2 separate regions of the Homo sapiens genome follow, and region 2 is linked to region 1. Evidence: promoter capture Hi-C in 16 types of primary human blood cells and fetal thymus (Javierre and others, 2016). All regions are on one chromosome and are shown on one strand. The core of a region is centred on a gene start or on the middle of the fragment in contact, and the rest is flanking DNA. Distances in the headings are between cores, read along the strand shown.

What was found. The method cuts DNA at HindIII sites, captures the fragments that hold promoters and counts their contacts. A CHiCAGO score of 5 or more calls a contact.
Region 2: a fragment that was not itself captured here is called in contact with the fragment with the promoter of PSMD11 in region 1 in 15 of 17 cell types (naive CD4 T cells, total CD8 T cells, fetal thymus and 12 more); the score reaches 13.3 in naive CD4 T cells.

The regions. Positions count from the first base shown.
Region 1 is chr17:32,443,251-32,445,766 of GRCh38, reverse strand. It overlaps PSMD11 (proteasome 26S subunit, non-ATPase 11), which reads right to left and starts at 1,257. Exons shown (of 14, transcript NM_002815.4): 1 at 1,153-1,257. The coding sequence starts at 1,243. RefSeq lists enhancers at 1,168-1,247, 861-1,476 and a silencer at 1,368-1,537. The HindIII fragment of the contact is 4,191 bases long and covers 1-2,516 here.
Region 2 is chr17:32,756,126-32,758,641 of GRCh38, reverse strand. All of the region lies in intron 10 of MYO1D (myosin ID), which reads left to right. Among named protein-coding and RNA genes, the nearest start is that of MYO1D-DT, 120 kb to the left of the region's middle. The HindIII fragment of the contact is 1,200 bases long and covers 658-1,857 here.

The sequences.
Region 1 (2,516 bases), core at 8-2,507:
GCAGGTCTGGAATACCAAAATTCAACACACTAAGTCAAATGCCAACATCTTGCAAGTCCCACATACAGGTGCATTCTCATACTACTTGTTGAGCCAATTCAGATCTTCCCAAACTACACTACAAAGATGCCATTACATGTGCAGTGAAGAGCTAGTCCAAGCCCTAATTGAATCCTTTATGAGTGAACATTAACGTCTTCTTCTGTCGTAATAAATTTCTGTTCACACTTGAATCCCAACAGAAAGCTGCCGGAAGCGACTGGCTGGGATTCCCATTTCAGTTTTCCTGTTGTGTGTAGGTGTAAGACCATCGTTATTACAGCGTTAAGAAATTTTAATTTTTCCGGCAACATGCAGCCGACCCGTTCCAAAGAATTCCCTGAACTCCGCGGCTGACAACTAACTCCCTTAACTCACTTCCAACCCCTACAGGCAGTCTGGAAAGATTAGTCACCTCCTCTAGCCAGGCGGTCCCGCTCCAACACCTCACTCTTACACCCTACACAGAGCAGATGAGCGTCTCGGCCACCTCCACAAACCAAATGCCAATCTGAGGTGTGTGTCACCCCTGAATTTCCCACATTCTGAAAGAGACCCTCCTCTTAGTGGAGCTTTCTGCCGTGGGGCTGAGGAGTAGCAGCTCCCAGCGTCCCGTGGAAGGAAACTCCCAGAGAAGAGCAAGCGCTCGCGCTCCCACCCGGAGCAGGCTGTGCTGATTACAACGGCGGGAAATGCCTGTCCAGAGCTGGTTTCGCCAAGGCCTTTCAAGTAGAGACTCTAGGACCAGTCCGTGACAAGCACGCCGGCCGGCACTGCTCCGGGTCCCAGACCAGCTCGTGCGGGCCAGAGCCGGGGACATGGCTAGGGAGGGATCCCCGGGGGCCCGGCTCGGCCCACTCTCCCACCCTACGCTGAGCCCCCCGTGAGTCAGCAGCCGGCGAGGGGACCCGGGGATTGCCTCAAGCCCTCCCACAAGAGTGAGACCTGGGAGGCTCTGGGGAGCTCCGAGCGGCCTGCGCCCCCGGCCCGGCCCCCCTCACACAGTGAGTCAGCAGCATCAGAGCCGGCTAGCCGGGCCCCTCTCCGCTGCCGCCGACCGACATAAGCCGAGCTGGGCCGGCGGGGCCGGGGAGGCGGCGCGGCGACCTTTACCGATGGAGTGGAGGATGTCGATGGAGGCCTCCCGGTCGGTGCTGAGTAGAGACTGGGCTCTCTGGAACTCCACCACCGCCGCCGCCGCCATCTTACCGCTCTCACACCGTCCCCGGCCGCGGCCGCCGACGCCGGAAACACACACCCGGAAAGCCCGCCCTCGGGTCCCTCCGCCTGTAGCTCCCGTGGCTCCGTTCCCAGAGCACTCCGGGAGTTGTAGTCTCTCCGCCGGGCGCGGGCTGAGGGGTGGGGAGAGCGGGACCGCCTCGCAGGTGGGCTGCAAGCTCCCCAGCGCCTCCTAGCGGGCGGCCGGCGAGGAAAAGAGGCGGTGCCCCGCAGTGGGAGCTCTAGATCGGTCCCCGCCCACCCCAAAAGAGGCTTCTTGATTCCGGCCCCGCTCGCGCACCCCTGAGAGGGGTTCCTGAGTACTGGGCTAGGTATTGAGTCAAAGCTGCGTGGCTTTCTTTGCGGCTTCCACGATTTAACCATTCATTCGGGACGATAAGTGACCTTATAAAGTGCTCGCTATGTGGCAAAGAATAGCACCATTCGAATGCGTTCCAGTGTCTGACGCCTGTGCGCCGCACACACGCTTTCCAGGCTTGACTCCCGCAGAACGCTGGCCGGCAGGTGGGCAAACCCGCCAGGACCGGAGAAAACTGTCCTCACGCGCCCATTTAACCTTGGGACAGTGCTGGACGTGATGAAGTGAAACATCACCTTTGCTCCATTCACGCCACAAATACCTCTTGGGAATCCACAGAAGCCTCACCCAGCTCCCCAGCTCAAAGAAAAAAAAAAAAAAAGGAAGGAAGGAAGGGAGGGAGGGAGGGACGGAGGAAGGAAAAAATTGAATTATTCTTCCCAATATCTTCAGCCCCTTCAACTAAAGTCACAGATATCAGTGAAGACGTCGTGTGGACGGAAAAATGACATTCTATGAGACCACTTAGGGTTAAACTTAAGAAAGGTGCTAAAAGGATACAAAGACAATTCAGTATTAAGGAAGACCTTTCTCTAGGTGATGACGATCCAAAAATGGAATGTGCTGTCCCATAAAAGGAGGCAAAAAGGGGACTAACATTGCACACCCTCCTCTGTAAGTGGATTAGGCCATTTATATTCCTCTATCTCCTTTTATTCTCCCAACAATGTTCTGTAAAGCAGATATTTACTCCCCTTTAATATGTGAGGAAACAGGGGTTTGAGTTATTTGGTGAAGCTCAAATCGTGATTGGGAGAGATAAGAGCTGCCGGTTAGGGAATGCCTTCCTAATTCCTGGGTGTGTTCACGTGAAAAGTAGTTGACATCTCATCAGGTTGTTGTAAACAGGATTCATGACTTTGATGGAGAGTTGGATTAA
Region 2 (2,516 bases), core at 8-2,507, 310 kb before region 1:
CTGGCTTTAACACGTACCAGTTGATTGCCAGTCTTATGCCATCTGTACTATACCCACCTACTCCCAGATTATTTTGAAGCAAATTTCAGATATCACATTATTTCATCTATTCAATTGGGTATCTATTCAGTAAATATTTCCATGTATTTCTCTAAGAGAGTTTTACAAAAACCATAATCACAATGCCATTATCATACCTAAAACATTAACAAAAATTCCTTAATATCATAAAATATCCAGTCAGTATACATGTTTCATATTTCCTTAATTGTCTTCTGGTTGTTGTTTTGCAGGTTAAATTTGGATCCAAATAAGTTTCTTACATTATGATTGATTGATAGGTCTCTTGCATATCTATAGATTTTCTCCATGTTTCTTTTTTTCCTTGAATGATCTCTCTTTGCAATCTTGTGTTGAAGAGAATGAGTCATTTGTTATGGAGTTCCCCACAGTCTGGATTTTGCTAATTGCATTCCTCAGGTGCCATTTAATATGTTTCTCTGTTTCTTGTATGTCCTGTATATTGGTTGTTAGATCTAGAGTCTTGACTGGATTCAGAGTCAGTTTTTTTCCACAGCCCATTTCATAGACTGTGTGTGAACTTCCACCAGGAGGTTCATAATGTCTGGTTATCTGGTACATTCACTTTTAAAAGCTTTCGATGCTGTAGTTTGCAAATCATTTTAACTATTGAGAACTTGATACTCAAGCACAAAGCTGTTTTATCTGGAGTGGGTATGAAAGGCCAGAGCCCCATGTCCCTAAGCTACCCCATCACAAGTCTTCTGGCTCCTGGTATCCCTTAGGAAACCTTACGGGAATGCCAAGTTGCTGGAAGAACTTAGTTTGAAAACTACTGGTTTAAGCAATGTTTGAAGCAGTATTAAACTTACAAACTGAAAGTTACTAGCAGAGACCAATAGCTTTTAATAATATAATTGGGATTTTAGGGAAGGTAATTCTTTAGTCCCTGGGACAAAAGACTTCGTCTTTAATTTCACAGTCCCGAAGTCTAAGATGTCAACTATTAATATAGAGCTCCTGCTTTTTGAGTATTTTTAGGATTTTTTTTCCAAAGATGGAAATAACTTTTCTCCCTAATTAGAAATGTAATAAATGCCCATAATGAAAGTAAATATTTAGACCTACACTGCTTCACCTCAGTACTACTGAGATTTTGTGCCAGATAGTTCTTTGTTGTGGAGGCTGTTCTATGCATTGTAGGATGTTTAGCAGCACCCCTGGCCTCTACCCACCAAATGACAGTAGCACCCCTACCCCATTTTGACTAGAAATGTCTCCTGATATTGCCAAATGTCCCCTGGTGAGCAAAATTCCCCCTATTCCCCTATTTGAGAAACTTTAGTTTAGACAGATCAGAAAAGTATAAAAAACAAAGTAAAAACTACCCAGTTTACAGGTTTCAGTCCATAAGATACAGAAGAGAACATGCAAGACTAGAAATGGAGCTAAAAGCCATGTACAAATAACTGGCATAAAACCTTGGATTTTAAAGCATGAAATGGGAATACATGAGTCACTTGAATGGTCTATTATGAGTATATAGACCTTATAGAAGGTAATGGAGACAGCAATCAGTTTAGGTAACTCCTGCGTAAGATGGGACATAGCAAGATTAAACTGTGTGATCATAAGCTGCCCCTCTTTGAGATGTGCAGCTTGCCTGAGTTGGCCTTTCTTTGTGTGCCTTCTGTGTGTAGTGATAGGTACATTGCAGGCTGTCAGAATAAACAGGTGTGGCAGAGGATTGTTGGACAAACCTTGTACATGTATAGTTGCTGAAAAGCCAGAAGTTATTTATAACTTCATTCACCTTGTGGAAGTAAAGGAAAAGCTTTTTCTTATCTTTTATAGATATTTATTTCTCAGAATTAAATTCTTTATATTATGCCTAGAAAAATGTAAAAATTCTACTGAATTTTTTCAAATTGTTCAAAATTCTATTGAAGCTTTTTAACTTTGGGGAAACCAAAAGAAATGCTCTTTTGGATTTTAGTCATTCAGGGTCATGTAACTAAAAATGCAAGTTCTTTTTTTTTTTTTTCCGTTTTAAGTGGAGTTTATTTAACACTAAGAGATAAAGGGTTGTTAACAAACACAATGACAAATGGACATCTGATTGGGATGAGGCATTATCCTGTACACATAATGTTGATATTTTTGTGTACCCTCAGTGCATGGCATTTACACATAGAGCCACTACTGCACAGCACAAGAGTATCTGAAGAGGCTGAATCAGAGTAAGGCTGTTTAAAAGACTGAAATTTTTTAGTATATATATTCTGCATGAAAACAGAACTTTTGAACTGGCAGGTAGAAGGCAACTCTGCCAAACACTACAGTTAAAGCCCCCACTTTAGTGCACAGTTCCACCCCTTCCATCTGCATGCGTGACACATTAACAGTATTTAAAGGTAAACGAGGCACTTTGTGGCAACTGCAGCCATCGTTATGAACATATTGCACAAAATTTCTAGAACTAAACATTTAACTTG